Regions from separate parts of the Homo sapiens genome. Here regions 1, 2, 3 and 4 are each linked to region 5. Evidence: promoter capture Hi-C in 16 types of primary human blood cells and fetal thymus (Javierre and others, 2016). All regions are on one chromosome and are shown on one strand. The core of a region is centred on a gene start or on the middle of the fragment in contact, and the rest is flanking DNA. Distances in the headings are between cores, read along the strand shown. Region 1 overlaps LINC02299 (long intergenic non-protein coding RNA 2299). Region 2 has its middle 36 kb from the start of LINC00618. Region 3 has its middle 98 kb from the start of PAPOLA. Region 4 has its middle 70 kb from the start of PAPOLA. Region 5 holds the start of BCL11B (BCL11 transcription factor B).

Region 1 (3,008 bases), core at 418-2,917, 2.5 Mb after region 5:
AAACAGCAATGACTGATCATGTTTGGAAGCTACCTGAGGAGAATAGCAGAACCAGCCCTGTGCTGCCTACCCGGGACTATCACTGTGAACTCTTATGTAAGAGATCAGTTAGCTTCTATCTTATTTAAGCCATAGTATTTTGGAGTCTTCTTGTACCATTTAGCCTATGCCCTAAAACCCCACAAACATAATTTCCAACGATGAATCATTAGAAGCCTCCCTATTAAAGTCAGGAACAAGAAAAGGATACCTGCTATCATCTTTATTATACGACATTTTGCTGGAGGTACTAGTCAAAGCAATTAGGTGAGAAGAGGGATAAAATAATAAATATAAGAAAGCAAGAAATTTACGTTCCCATTTTGTGCAGGCAATATGATCATTTGCTTTCTAACTGAAGAAGCACTAGAAAGAATAAGAGATTTCAATAAGTTTCTGGAATATATATAATAGGTTTTCTTTTTTATTACTTTTTTTAAAAATTTTAAGTTCTGGAATACATGTGCAGGATGCGCAGGTTTGTTACATAAGTAAACCTGTGCCATAGAGGTTTGCTGCACCTATCAACTCATCACCTAAATATTAAGCCTCGCATGCATTAGCTATTTATCCTGATAATAGGTTTTCTATACACAATGACCAATTGGAAAATATAATAGGAAAAAAATCCTGTTCACAAAAAAAAAATAACATTTGTCAGTACAAATATGTAGAAATAAACTTTACAAAAAATGTGCACATTCTATTTTTTAAAAAAACTATAAGCTTTTCTCAATGATATAAGACAGCTTTAAAAAAATCAAGAGCATACTATTTGTAGATGGTGTACTCTGCTATAAAGATGTCAGTATTCCTCAAATTCACTTTTAAATGTTATGTATTCCCAATAAAAAGTTTATAGAACTTGATAAAGTGATTTTCAAGTCCATCTGTTTGAGTCCAAGAAGAATAAAAATGTCAAACATCTTACATGTTCTAGTAGCTTAAGTACTAGAAACAGACACAGAAACAGACAAATAGATCAATGAAATAAGAGAGAATACAAAAAAGAACTGTTGGATAAATGACAATTTTGTTGGTGGTAAAGATGGCATCTTACATTAGTGGAGAGCACAGACTATTCGAGAAATAACCTTGAGATAATTGGCCCTCCATTTAGAAATAATTTTAGAACTTTACCTCACACCATATACAATAATAGATTCTAGTTAAATCAAACAGCTAAGAGTAAAATTCTAAACTATAAAAGTGTATGACTAAAAGATAGGGGAACAGTCTCTAGAATGCCAAGTGAGCAAGACCTCCCTCAGCAAGGCACAAAAGAAGCCGTAAAGTGTCAGATCTCAAATCTTTCCCTCTGTTCCAGCCACACTCCTAGCAGTTACTGGACATTGCAGGCAGGCTCAGCTCTTGCTGTTCCCTAGGCCTGGCTGTTCTTCCCCCAGGCCTCTGTTTTAATGTTATCTTGTTAATGAGGCCTTCCCTGACCCTTTTCGAAAAATAGGCTTCGCTGGGCGCCGTGGCTCATGCCTGTAATCCCAGTGCTTTGGGAGGCTGAGGCAGGAGGATTGCTTGAGGCCAGGAGTTAAAGACCAGCCCAGGCAACACAGTGAGACCCCGACTCTACAAAAATAAAATAAAATAAAACTGGCCAGGCTTGTTGCTGCACACCTGTAGTCTCAGCTACTCAGGAGGCTGAAGTGGGAGGATCACTTGAGCCCAGGAGTTCAAGGATCCAGTGAGCTATGACTGTGCCATTGCACTCCAGCCTGAGCAGAAGAGGAAGACCCTGTCTCCAAAAAACAAAAAGCAAACAAACAAAAAACAGGCTTTAAAAGTAAAGTAAGCCTCTACTGCAATTCTGTGCTGAAGCGTAGCTCTACAGGAACATGGTGGAATCAAGGGCTTTTTTTGTTGGAAACATCTAATAGATTAATTTGTCTAACAACACATTTAGGTCCTGAAGTCTCTCTATAACCTGTGCTTAAATGCTTCCAATGTCAGGGAAAGCATTATCCTCCAGGAGGATCTGTTCTGTCAATCTATCCACCAACCCATCATTCATCCACCCACCCAGCCATCCATCCATCCACCTATCTGTCCAACAGCCCACCCATCCTTCCTTGCACCCATTCATTCATTCGCTACCTCCTCATCCTTCCATCCATCTTTCCATTTATCCATCCATCTACCCACTCATTCATCCACAGCACCATTACACAAACATTTACAGAGCATGTATTATGCACCAGGCATGGTGGTAGGCACTGGGGTTTTTGAATTGAATATATCATGGTCAGGCTGTCAAGGACTTCAGAGTTTGTGCATGTAAACAAATAACAGTAACACATTATGACAAGAGCTGTAACAGAGTTCCTTTTCAACTGCTGTGGAAGAATGGAAGTAATAACTTCTGGGGGTGTCAGAGAAGGTTCCCAGCAGGGATAGCATGTTAGCCAGGAGCTGAAGAATGTCTAAGAGATATCCTCCAAGCAGAGACGGGAAGAAGGGCATTATAGATGGAGGGAATAGAAACAGAATGCAAACATGTATACACACAAAAGCTTCATAAAATTGCAAATAGGAGGGCAGGACAGGGGATGTATGAGATGGGGAAGAGTGAGGCAGGAAGAAAGGCATCAGGCAGTGTGCCTGGAAATGTGACAAGAGACGGATTCTGAAAATCTTTGCAAATCTTGCTTAGGTTAAAGTTTTGGTGAGTAGAATGTTCTCTAGAAATCTCCGTAAAAAAAAAATATGCAAAGAATCCCCATGCTGTTCTTACATTAATCTGTGCTGCCGGCTTGGGCTTAGATGCAGCTTTGCAAAATATATTTTTTAAAGTTTCATTATGCCACTGTACATCAAAATAGGCCAATATAAATTATAATACGGTCATGCCAATAGGACTTGCAAACACAATATTTTAAGTTTATATTGCATTCCAAGACCCATAAAAATTATTCCGAATGGCTGTTTGCTTTTTGAAGCCAAATGAAAAGGTATTT
Region 2 (3,106 bases), core at 462-2,961, 2.4 Mb after region 5:
GATAGAGTTCTCTTGAGATTTGGTTGTTTAAAAGTGTGTGGCACCTCCCCTTGCTCTTCCTCTTCCTCCCGCTCCAGCCATGTGAAGACATGCCTCCTTCCCCTTTACCTCCCACCATGATTGTAAATTTCTCGAGGCTTCCCCAGCCCCCATGCTTCCTGTACAGCCTGTAGAACCATGAACCAATTAAACCCCTTTTATTTATGAATTACCCAGTCTCAGGTATTTCTTTATAGCAGTCTGAGAACAGACTAACATAAATGGGGAAAATGAAGCAGAGACACGCCATGGAGCTCTGTGTAGCAGCTAGAAGCACTGGACAGAGGGCACACACACACAACTGTTCATGTAAATCAAAACGGTAATTTCCACAAAACTTACTGGAACAGTTGCTTATATGGAGGGAGGAGAAAAGGAGAAGAGAGTGGAGAGAAAGTGGAGTAACTACATAAGTAATTAACAAGAACGACAATGATAAAAACAAGAAAGGGGTCTTGCAAAAGTTGAGAGGTCACATGTTACACTCATTTAATACTCACAACTCCTACCATCTGTAGTGCAGAGATGGGGAAACCAAGGATCTGAGAGAGTGGAATGGGGAATCGAGTCCAGGAGAGAGAGACCTCCCATTTATGAGCACCTACTGTGTACCGGATTAGCCTCATGATAGGCTTAGCCTCACGACACTGCCAAGGCAGAGAGATTGCCCTCACTTTACAAGGGCAGACACTAAGGTTCAGAAAGGGGAACTCTCTTGCCTGGGGACCCACAGCTTATAAGAACCAGCTGAGATTTGAGCCCAGGTGTGAGGCTCCAAAACTTGTGGTCTCTCCATGATGTGCCTTTTTCTCCATGTACCTATCAAAGGTTCAGGCCAGAAAAGGGAGGCAGAAGAAATCCCAAGGAACTGGAACCCAGGGCCATACCTGCAAGAAGTAGAGAGGCTCTGCCATGCCTGCAAGAAGTAGAGAGGCTCTGTATATTGGGAGAACATGGGAGGCGGTGCACCAACCAGTGGGGAGGGGGAAATCCCATCTCATGCCATGAAGCTACATGGCAGTCAGGTGGCCTTACTGGCTGCAGGTAAATGTGTGGACGAGCAGGCATGGTTGAGCTCAGCACAGGGGCAGGCTTGCTGGACAGACAATCACAGGCATCTCTGCCACACCCCCATTCTGTCTGACCTATAGGCAAGGCACAGAGCTTCTGTCCCCGAGCCACTGTCCATCTGCCCTTCCTTCCAGCCACCCTCCTAACAAACTGATTATTTTGCTTATTTACTTGTTGTCTCTTTCTGCCCCCAAAGACTGTAAAATCCATGAGGGCAGGGATTTTTGTGTGCTTTCTCCTTTGCCACATCCCCAGTGCCTGCATGTAGTAGACCTCAGTAAAAGCTTTGTTGAATAAATGAAATCATGAAAGGCCTTATATCCCATGCCAAGGAGTGTAGCGTGCTTCCTGAGGCACTGGGGTGGCTACTGTAGGGTCTGGGTAGAGCTGAGACATTCTCAGACCTGCCTGACAGCAGCAGTGGGTGCAATGGTTAGGAGTGTAGACTTCATAGCCCGGCTGCCAGGTGTGGCCCCTGTTCCCCACACAAGCCTTGTAACCTTGTGCAAGTCACTCAATCTCAGCTTCCTCATCTGCAAAATGGGGATGAAAATAGTACCTCCTTCATAAGGTTTTGAGAGGATGAAATGAGTTCATACGTGTGGTGTTTAGGACAGTACCTGGCATGATGGTAACATAATAGTCATGTATCAGTTTTTGCTACATAACAAGCCCACCAAAATTAGTGACTTAAAACAGCAATCTTTTATTTAACTCATGACTCTGTAGTTTGGCAATTTGGGATCATCTTGATCAACTATGAGGTTCTTCTGCTGGTCTTGGCTGGGCTCACTCCTGCTCAAGTTGGCAATCAATGACCTCACTCGCATGTTGTATGGTTATCTGGCTGTAGCTGGGGTTACAGGGTACCTGGGCTATGTGTCTCTCTCAACGTCCAGCAGATCAATTCAAGCTTGTTCATGTGGTGGCAGCTGCAGTGTTTCCAAGTGCAAAAAGATAAAGCAAACCCCAGTGTACAAGCACTATTCAAGCTTCTGCTTGTATCATTTTGCAAATATGTCCCATTGGCCAAAACACATCACATGGCCAACCCAGCTTCAAGAAGTAGAGAAACAGGCTCCACCCCTTAATAGGAGGGGAAGAATGTGTGGCCATTTTTGCAATCTATGACTGCCCTTGCTATTTCAGAAATGGCAAAGGCATCTAAAGAGAACTCAGGAGGCCTCTGCTAATGACCAGATTTGATGAAAGACTGGAAGCCCTACTGGGTGTGAGAAATGGGAAACCAGCCTGTCCCATTCCATATCCTTACTTCCCAGCCCTCTGTGATAAGAACTAGTTATTTTGAGTGGCAAGTGGGCTATGCCAGAAGTAGGTTTCTGCTCTGTCTCAAATGGCCCTCGAACTTTTGGGGATGGAGGACAGAGTGCAGGCTTTGAGCAGATCTTTCAGAGAGTGGTCAGGGCTGTCCGCCTGTAGCACCCTCTGAAGGTGGCATCCCCAAGCCTCAGCCTCCGCAATCCAGTCTGTAAAAGCCTGATCTCACTTAGCTCCTTCTCAAACAATAATTTGAAATCAACGAATCCTGTGCTGACATACTCCTCCCCTATGATTACTGAGCTCTAGACATGAGGAAACAGGCATTTCTCAACCAAGCCCTCCATCAGTGATTACCATTATTGCATAATTGGGGACCTCAGAAGCAACAGAGTGCCGTGAGCTGCCAGGCCCAAGCTCCTACTCAAATGACACTCTGAGTTCAGCTGCTAGAAGACAGGAAAATGTGGCTAATTGAGACTAAAGACTGCTCTGAGTAGCTTTCTAATTTTCCACAGTTAGTTCCTTTTTATTCTGCAGTGGTGTCCTTTTGGTAATTGACTTTCAAATAATACTTGTTACATATCATACTTAAACAGGAGTATTTCTGGCAGGGTTGAGCTATACAATGGATCTAGAAGTGGATTTCATTAAGGGAACCAGCTCTACAGATCTGAGGCACTCCCTCAGTGCCAGCCACACACTAATGTTCAAGAAA
Region 3 (3,396 bases), core at 837-3,336, 2.7 Mb after region 5:
CAGACAGCATGAATCTCCCACAAAACCAGAAAGTTACCCTCCATACATGGGTTCAACTGGAGTGCTTTGGGCTGCAAGTAACAGACAAACCAACTCAAAGAGGTTTAAACATCTCATCAAAAAGTGGGCTAAGGACATGAATAGACAATTCTCAAAAGAAGATATACAAATGGCCAAGAAACATGAAAAAATGCTTAACATCACTAATGATCAGGGAAATGCAAATCAAAACCACAATATGATATCACCTTACTCCTGCAAGAATGGCTGTAATCATAAAATCCAAAAAACAGTAGATGTTGGCATGGATGCGGTGAGCAGGAAACACTTCTACACTGCTGGTGAGAATGTAAACTAGTACAGCCACCATGGAAAACAGTGTGGAGATTCCTTAAAGAACTAAAAGTAGAACTACCATTTCATCCAGCAATCCCACTACTGGGTATCTACCCAGAGGAAAAGAAGTCATTATGTGAAAAAGATACTTGCACACGCATGTTTATAGCAGCACAATCCACAATTGCAAAATCGTGGAACCAACCCAAATGCTCATCAATCAACGAGTGGATAAAGAAACTGTGATATAGATATATATGATGGAATACTACTCAGCCATAAAAAGGAATGAAGTAACGGCATTCGCGGTGACCTGGGTGAGATTGGAGACTATTCTTCTAAGTGAAGTCACTCAGGAATGGAAAACCAAACATTGTATATTCTCACTGATATGTGGGAGCTAAGCTATAAGGATGCAAAGGCATAAGAATGATACAATGGACTTTGGGGACTTGGGGGGAAGGGTGGAAGGGGGTAAGAGACAAAAGACTGCAAATAGGGTGCAGTGTATACTGCTCGGGTGATGGGTGCACCAAAATCTCACAAATCACCACTAAAGAACTGACTTATGTAACCAAACACCACCTATACCCCAATAACCTATGGAAAAAGAAAAAAAGAGATTTAAGCACTGAGGATTTTCATGACCACACACAAAAGACCCTGAGGTGGCCAACCTCAGACCAGCTTCAATGTCGGGGGAATGGGAACCATAGACCAAACACAACTTACCTGAAGCCCAGCCAGGTGGAAGAGGGTGGAGCCTGAGAAAATCAGACTCCGCCAGCAGGGAAGTGGGGGAGTGAATTTGGAGTGAGCAACAAGAATGTCTGCCACACCTGCTTATGAAATAGCTTTGCAGGTGAATTTTCTCATTTACTTGCAAGGCATTCTTACTTGTTAGCATTTCCTAATGATGCTGAGAAAATAGGAATACCATTGGTAAAAGCTTGATCAGGAAAAATGAACAGTCTTGTCCTTGGTGCTTCACACCCAAGAGCCACTGGTTCCCAACCCCTCAGGCGGAAGCAGACTTTGGTGGCCTCATTGCCTGTGACCCCAGGCCTCCAGTCAAACGCATGGCCTGGCAAAATTCCTTTCTTGGAAAATGCCTGAGATGATCGCATGAATCCTCCTACACAGCCTAGGGATTACAACCAACTGGGAAAGGAGTGGAGGAAGGAGGTCACTGGCCCCAGGAGGGTGAGTCAGCTGTCCTACCAACCCACCCCTCACTCCTGATCTCCTTCTGCTGTGATCCACCTCTCAACAAAGAGTTGGATCTCTCAAGATCCATCTCTTGGCCTCACGTTCCTGACTGTGGACCACACTCTGGCCCCTCTAAGACCAGCACTTGCACAGGCCCTGCTGGAAGTACAGCCTCAGCTCATGGGGCAGTTTCAGCATGGCTTGACTCTCACGCCCTGCTGCCTGGGGAGGGCCACACAGCCCAGACTCAGCCTCAGCCTCAGGAAAGCCAACCCCCATCCCTACTTGGCCACCATTAGCTGGCAGAGCGGGGGGAGGGGTAGGTGGGTCCTGATGCCACTGCCATGAGCCACAGCAACTGTCAGCTAAGACCCCAGTCCCGTAATTGGCACCTAGCAAACAATCTGGGAGGTGCTAGGGTTGGGCCCCCAGCATGCGTTAGCCATCGTGGTTATAGAAGCAGCAGCCTCCTGAGGGCAAATGTGGACTGCAGTTGCAGTGTGCTTCCTAAAGCATTGGTCCCCAGCTCAAGCATGGCCCCAGGGTAAGTGGGGGCTGCGAGTGAGGCACAGATTCAGGAGTGCAGAGCCAGGCTAGGGCCTTGGCTGTCCTGGCTTTGGACCCCAATGAGATAGGCACACCCATTTGTAGTTGCACGTCACGATGCTGCAGTATTCATGTCATGGTTGGCTGGCTCTCTGCAATTTCCCCCTCTTCCAGAAGTAGCACCCTGTGCAGTCCAGGTCCTGAGTATCCCCCACCCATGCACTGGAAAGACACCCAAGTGGATGGGCCAAAGAGTCTGCCCACCAGAGTTTGGGAATTGACACCTGGTGGTACCAAGACACAGGGCAGTGGGCACTGAAGTTGAGTCCTGTAAGGGCTGGGCCCCCAGAAGACGGCCACCGCCTCCTGCTGCCCCAGTCCCCACGGCTACCTATTCTTCCTGGGCCAGTGCCTCCTGTAGTCCACAAAACACCCTCACTTCCTGCCAGGAGACTCTTTTTTTGTTTTTGTCAGATAAGACAGAGTCGGTTTCTGTTGCTTGAGTCCGAATGAACACACGGCCCTCAGCCACGCTCTCATTTTACAGGTGTGACCTGGGGCCCAGCAGGCATGTGACGTGTAGAGGTTGCGCTGGCCGTGCATGCAGGTCTGAGAGAACCCCAGTTTCTAGGCACCCCCTCACTCCTCTTTCTGACAATCTGCTTGGTAAACGTGTGGACTCGGCCCCTTCCTGGGGCCCTCTTGGCTCTGCCTTCAGAGGTGTCCACATGCCCTGTGTTGGTGCTGCTTGGGAAGGCAAAGGCCCCAATCTGCTCAGACCAAGTGGTAAGCTTGGACCAAGCGGATCCAGACCTGTGGGGAGGCAAACACACCCTCACCACCATCCCTCCCCAGGAGCGCATCCAAAGGCCTGGCATCAGGGCTTTCCAAACTACCAGGAAAGGGCGCTCCACAGGTGAACACACTTCCAGCTCCAACAATTTCCCAGGGAAGAAAAAGTTGCCATGCCCCTAGATAAAGGGTGTGCGGAGCAGCAGGGGAAAGTGGAGCAGCAGGGGAAACGGCTTCTGGTGTGCGCACTGCTCCCTTAGCTGCAGGAGTGTCCCTGATCTCAGTAGTAGATAAACTCTTGGCAAAGCTGGGTTTTCCATGGTTTGCTGAACTCCTGAACACAGATGTCCCATTTGTGTTTCGTTAGTACATCAGCCGCTCTGCGGCTTTCGACCTCTGCACCAGGCAATAATTACCTGGCTCGGGCCCATCCCCTCACCAGCTGGCCGGGGACTTGCTCTGCCCGACCAGGGCTGTGTCTGCTGTCAGCCCTTTCCAGGCAACTGGACAGCT
Region 4 (3,024 bases), core at 337-2,836, 2.7 Mb after region 5:
ATAGCCACAGATCACCTTGGCTATCCCAAGTAAGGAAGAATTGTTAGTTAGAACATTTAAGCCAATGAGCGCTGAAGGGTGAATGCTCAGAGAGCATCAGGACACAGTAGTAACAGCTGCAGTATGAGGCTCTTCACTTACTTACCTTTTATCCTCACAATCACCTTAAAAGGACATTGCTCATCTCCACTGAAAAGGAATACGAGCTTCAAAGAAAATGCTGTAACTGCATGAGCTCAATAGCTAGTAAGTGCTGAAGCTAAGACCTGAATGCAGCTCTGCCTTGAAAACAGGCATTCTTTCCGCTACACACAGAAAGTTGTGTACTAAATGTTTTAATTCAGCTGATATGATAAAATGGCAGTCAAGATGAACTGCCTGATGGGCAACTTTGCTGAATATTTCTAGCATGTGCCAAACCCAGCAAATGATGTATCCTATGGAATTTAATTCTTAACAACCAGAAATTAGGCATCCGTACCACAATGCCAATGCCATCCCCTTTCCACTCAGCAAAATGCCCAGACCTCTTATTTTCCATGCATCTTTATCACAATGCCAATGCCATTTCCCTTCCACTCAACAAAAGGCCTACATAGACCACTTATTTTCCAAGAGGCCCCAGTCTTCTAATTGGCCCTAACATCCGGGCATGCCTCAAACTCCCTGTATTCTCCCCCCATGTTAAACCAATATAGCAGGTTTCAAGTAAAACACCACTCAAGTCAGAGCCTCTAAGGTGCTTCAACTTCTAATCCTTCCTTCATGGAAGCTCCAATGCTTTGGATATTATGATCCTGAGTGGTGATCAAAATAAGATTACAAACAAGAATTTCCAAAGAATTCAGAATTAATGGAGTCATGCTAATTTATGTGGTTTAGCCACTTACTAGCCATATTACTAATTATTTTCTCTAGGCTTCTGGCCTCACCTTACTGTTCAATACTTGTTTCCCCACATCCCAGTTATACTACCCTTCTTTAAAAATTCTGTTCCTAACATGTGAAAATTCTACTTCAAACCTTTCTGAAAATGAAGATTTTCGTGTTTTCCTACAGCCTGTTTGGTTAACAGCCAAATTCAAAGCTCTTCATAAAGTACCGCAAGGGGCCAGGTGCAGTGGCTCACACCTGTAATACCAACACTTTGGGAGGCCGAAGCAGGCAAACTGCCTGAGGCCAGGAGTTCAAGACCAGCCTGGCCAACATGGAGAAACCCTATCTCAACTAAAAACACAAAAATTAGCCAGGTGTGGTGGTGCATACCTGTAATCCCTGCTACTTGGGAGGCTGAAGCACGAGAATCACTTGAACTCAGGAGGCAGAGGCTGTAATGAGCCAAGATTGTGCCACTGTACTCCAGCCTGGGCGACACAGCAAGACTCTGTCTCAAAAAAAAAAAAAAAAAAAGGTGCTACAAGGCCAAGGGGGAGCTAAGAAAATACCAGGAGTCCTTGCAGCTCACCTTTCTTCTACCCATCCCAAGTCTATCTTCTAGGGATTATGATTTAGAGTCCATGACTAGAACTCTCCTTTCAAAAGCCAACCCTGGTAAGTCTGGCAGAGGAAACCCTTCTTTGGAGGTCTCTGAGAACAAATCTGGCCTCAGAAAACATGCTCTCAACATGCTACAGTTCAGTTCACTAAACCAGAGTCCTGTAAGACATTCCATCTTACCTCTTCCCATATCAAAAGTGAGTCAGTAGAACAAATAATACAGAATAGCAAGAACACACTTTACGAGATGGACAGAAGTAGAGAGAAATTACATGATCTTTGATGTCACTTGATAGTTTCTTCATCTATTGCAAATTACTGCTTTTATCTTCCTATCAGTGGATTTCTAGCTTAGCAATAGCTCATGCTCACCATAAACCTCGCAAAAGCCTACTGAGAAAACCTGGTATCGCCCTAATGTACAAGTTGCTCCACTACACCCACAGGTACTACTTCACTTGGGGGATTTATCCTGATTACGATATATCCGAGGACACGAGCTTAACCTTATTCCCCTCTTCAGGTGTGTGGTTCCTAGAGAATGAGTGGTGTTAGACTACCACTACTCAAATAACAGGGAATGAGTGATGTGCTAACATACTCTAGCTATAAAACACATCCCTACATCTGACTTTGGATAAGAAAACCAGCTAGTGACTCCTGAGTAATGTTTTGAGGTCCCCTGTTAAATGAAGTAGAGATGGGTCATAACTGGCTTCTAAGGAGACTATGGGGATTAAGAAAATCGCCTTGAGCCAAGCTAAAACTTCAACTGCTGCCTAGAGATGGCAACATGAAATACAGACTCCTCTCTCAATGGAAATGGTTGAGCAGAGGCCGTCACAGACAAAATGAACGAGAAGGCTCATTAGGTGCCTTCTACTTTGAGACTTTAAAATTTAAACATTTTAAATGTAAATTTTTAAAGAAGACTGGTTATTTTCAAGGAAAAAAAAAAGTTATTCAACAATTTAGGCAGATGACAAAGACCATGCTTGGAAAACTAGCTTTACGAGAATTTTCATTGTTAAGAAACCAAAGTGTTCACGTTTGGGTCATTCAACATGACAAAGGCCACAATGGTATCAGTTTCCTCAAAAGAGAAGTCTACTAAAATAGTCTCATATTTAAGAAAACCTAAGTGAAAAACATGTAACCTAACACAGCTTAAAAATTACAGGAAAAATTTGTACCTTTAAAGTCGCATTAAAGAGAGCCAAAAAAATCTTACAGGTTATCAAGGAGACCACACAAAACATGAACAGCTAAATTGGATGCCAGTAGCCTAAGTTTACAAACAGTGATAGATGAAAAATACAGTTACAATAAGTATGGCTAAAATGTCTAATATCCCATAACCAATGCTTATTGAAGCCAATGCTTATTCTTGAGGCAGGCTTTGTATGAAAACTGTAGTAATACTTTTAAAACTTGTACTATTTTACTATAAAAGCCAAATTAGGATGAACTGAGTGCTTTAAATAATTTTCAAAAATAATTATTTTACAGTTGGAAAGTGTGTGTTGT
Region 5 (3,079 bases), core at 459-2,958:
CCGCGCCCCGCCCCCGGTCTCCATCCGCTCGGCCTCGCGTCCGCCCACCGTGGAGCCCACAGTTTACAGAACTGCAAGCCAGGGCACATTTTATTGTTATTATTTTTTAGGGTATGGGACTGGAAGGGATCTCTTTCTGTTCTCGCTCACGGACTCTGGGCGCTGTTAAATTGTTGGTGCCATCGCCCCACCCAAGACCTTCGGGACGAAAACAAAAACCCCCGTGTGCCCCCCGAGGAAAAGGCCCCGAGGGAGGCGGCGCTGAGGCGTCACGGCCTCGCCATGCGCCCGGGTGAAGCCGCCGGAGCCAGGCCTGGGGGCGGAGTGGGGTGGGTGCAGCTGGACTCGCCCGCGAAGCCTAGCCGGAGCCAGGCCCCGACCCGCCCTGGCCGCCTCCAGAGAAACCCTGAGAAGGGAGAGGAGGCCAGCCGCGTGGCGCGCCCAGCCCTGGAGGCCAGGTCATCAAATTGACAAAGTTGGCCACAGCCTGGGGAATGGGGGGTGTCCACGGGGGCCGTGGTCTGGCCTTGTCCCCGGGCCACGGAGAGGCCCCACAACTCCTCTTGTCCTCGCCGGTTGGAGATCAAACGGCTGACAAGGCAGCTGCGTCCTTCCCAGTCTGACAGGCATTTCCAAGTCCTACCCTGGGCCGAGGAGCGCGGGGGGCGGGGTGTGACTTCCAGGTTGCTGTGATTGTCAGGGGCGCCTCCTGGAGTCACCCACCCGAGTATCTGCGGAGATTTGGCCACACCTACTCCTGGGCTGGCAAGTCCAAGTCCCTCTCCCACGTGGAGCGCCCCGGTCCCTTTACCCTCTCGCTTGCCATAGACCCAGTTTAGGAGGTGGGGTCGTGTTTGACCCCAGGAGTTAATCGGGGTAAGGTGAGGGGAGGGGACAAAGATTTGAGTGAAAATCCTTTTCCAAGTGGGACTCAAACAAGGTCTCAAACACTTCTCACCCCCTCACGTGCTCTTGATTCTGTTGTCTTAGTGTCGTTTATTTTGTCATCCTCACCCTCCCAGAGTCTGTAATACCAGGATTTATATGGAGACACTTTTTGGAAGTTGAACTCCAACATCTACTCCCCTCCCCTCGCCGCCCGCGACCATAAAACAAAAGTAAAAACTACCAAGCGACTTTTCCAGGGAAACGAAGCGATTCTTACTGTCCCCCCAACTCCCATGTCGACCCCAACCCTTTTCCACAGTCCACGCCCCCACCCCCAAAGTCCAAGTCCGAAAGAGCTTTTGGGTGGGTGGAGACTTGCATTGATTCAATTTAGTTCACTCACACAGCACCCCGCCCCCCTTCTCAGGGGGTCCTGCTCCCAGGATGGAGGAGATATAAGGACGATTTTTCTTTTATTTTAAAATAAGCTGCCCAGTGGCCCCCCCCAACCCCCTCCCGCTGTTGCGCAGCCGGGGCTCGGGGGAGATGAGCGCACAAAAACGCGGTTTGCACGTGTGTCCGGCTTGGGCTGCGGGTGTGCGCAACTGGCGACTGTGTGTGTGTGTGTGTGAGTGTGCGCGCGCGCGCGAGTGTGTCTCTGTGTGTGCTTTCTTGTTCTCTTACAGGGTACAATGTTAAAAAGCCACCGCTAGTCGCCCCCAGTGCTCCGACTCTCTGGGTCTTTTTGTCTCTAGTGCAGATTAAACGTCACGTCCGCACTTGAACTTGAATTTTATCCCATTGTACAGAGGCAGCCCCAGCCATAGAGAGACCGAGAGCTCCCAGAGAACCCGGACTCCGCCATCTTCACGTTGCAATCTATAGCTCCCAGTCTGCGCCCGCACCGACCCAGGCGCACTGGGCGAGCCGCCCCTCCGCCCCGCTCCCCCCGGGCCCGCGGCGCCAGGGGAGCGCTGGGGAGCGCTCGCGGGGACTCGGCAGCCCCTCCGGCCGGCGCCAGCCTGCCAGGTGAACTGGGAAGGAGCCTCTCCTGGTGTCCCCCCAGAGCCTCGGAAGGGTCAGTCTCCGAGAAAAAACAAAAACAAAAACAAAAACAGGCAGCCCGCAGAAAACCCAGAAACAACCGAACCGGGGCAGTTTTACATTGCTTTGGGTTTTTTGAGGGGGCGGGGTGAGGGGGTACGAGACAAGTCCCCAAGTTTTCTTTGCTTTTTTTTTTCCTTTGCTTTTTCTTCTTTTATTTTTTTATTTGTTTGCATTTTTTTTCCCCTCCTGGTAGAAGTGCGCTTTCCACCTACCAGACCCTGAAAGAAAGTGTCAGGAGCCGGTGCAAAACCCAGTTTAAGTTCAAGAAGACATTTGCAAGTGCAAGAGGCCAAGCAGTTTGAAGAAGTGTAAGAGATTTTTTTTCCTTCGAAAGAATATATTTTTAAAGAAACCAGCCAGTCCGCGGAAAGCAACAGCAGTTTTTTTTTTTTTTGCCTCTTTTTCTTATTTTAGATCGAGAGGTTTTTCTTGCTTTTCTTCCCTTTTTTTTCTTTTTGCAAACAAAACAAAAAACAGCATAGAAGAAAGAGCAAAATAAAGAAGAAGAAGAGGAGGAAGAGAGGGAAAGAGAGGAAGGGAAAAAAAACACCAACCCGGGCAGAGGAGGAGGTGCGGCGGCGGCGGCGGCGGCGGCAGCGGCGGCAGCGGCGCGGCGGCGGCTCGGACCCCCTCCCCCGGCTCCCCCCATCAGTGCAGCTCTCCGGGCGATGCCAGAATAGATGCCGGGGCAATGTCCCGCCGCAAACAGGGCAACCCGCAGCACTTGTCCCAGAGGGAGCTCATCACCCGTAAGTGTCTGCGGAGTGCGCGCGAGGGGCCGGAGATGGGGCTCCGGGCGTCTGGGGCTGGGGACACCGAGCCCGGAACAGCCGAGCCTGGCCAGGCGCCGGGGCCGCCCGCTGGCTGGCAGAGTCTACGGCGTCGGCCTGGAGCATGGCGGGGGGCGGGGGCCATAGGAAAGTTTCTTTGCAGCCCGGGGAGTTGGGGCGCCGAGCAGCCGGACGCGCCTCGGGCTCGGGGGCCTGCGGAGCCGGCTCCGGGCCGGGGAGGGGGCATGCAGGCTGGAGGAGTGTGTGTGTGTGCGCGCCGAGCCCGGCTGGACGCTCGCCCCTCCGAGCGGCGT

The links. The method cuts DNA at HindIII sites, captures the fragments that hold promoters and counts their contacts. A CHiCAGO score of 5 or more calls a contact.
Region 1: a fragment that was not itself captured here is called in contact with the fragment with the promoter of BCL11B in region 5 in 1 of 17 cell types (endothelial precursors); the score reaches 7.5 in endothelial precursors.
Region 2: a contact is called between a fragment that was not itself captured here and the fragment with the promoter of BCL11B in region 5, in 1 of 17 cell types (endothelial precursors). The highest score is 5.4, in endothelial precursors.
Region 3: a contact is called between a fragment that was not itself captured here and the fragment with the promoter of BCL11B in region 5, in 1 of 17 cell types (endothelial precursors). The highest score is 10.2, in endothelial precursors.
Region 4: a fragment that was not itself captured here is called in contact with the fragment with the promoter of BCL11B in region 5 in 1 of 17 cell types (endothelial precursors); the score reaches 5.7 in endothelial precursors.

What each region holds. Positions count from the first base shown.
Region 1 is chr14:96,759,785-96,762,792 of GRCh38, reverse strand. The region is part of intron 3 of LINC02299 (long intergenic non-protein coding RNA 2299); the gene reads right to left. Among named protein-coding and RNA genes, the nearest start is that of LINC02299, 20 kb to the right of the region's middle. RefSeq lists an enhancer at 1-18. The HindIII fragment of the contact is 1,799 bases long and covers 768-2,566 here.
Region 2 is chr14:96,905,687-96,908,792 of GRCh38, reverse strand. No RefSeq gene overlaps it. Among named protein-coding and RNA genes, the nearest start is that of LINC00618, 36 kb to the left of the region's middle. The HindIII fragment of the contact is 629 bases long and covers 1,397-2,025 here.
Region 3 is chr14:96,598,605-96,602,000 of GRCh38, reverse strand. No RefSeq gene overlaps it. Among named protein-coding and RNA genes, the nearest start is that of PAPOLA, 98 kb to the right of the region's middle. The HindIII fragment of the contact is 1,597 bases long and covers 1,288-2,884 here.
Region 4 is chr14:96,570,822-96,573,845 of GRCh38, reverse strand. No RefSeq gene overlaps it. Among named protein-coding and RNA genes, the nearest start is that of PAPOLA, 70 kb to the right of the region's middle. The HindIII fragment of the contact is 4,574 bases long and covers 1-3,024 here.
Region 5 is chr14:99,270,826-99,273,904 of GRCh38, reverse strand. It overlaps BCL11B (BCL11 transcription factor B), which reads left to right and starts at 1,708. Exons shown (of 4, transcript NM_138576.4): 1 at 1,708-2,744. The coding sequence starts at 2,687. RefSeq lists a silencer at 1,782-1,861. The HindIII fragment of the contact is 13,366 bases long and covers 1-3,079 here.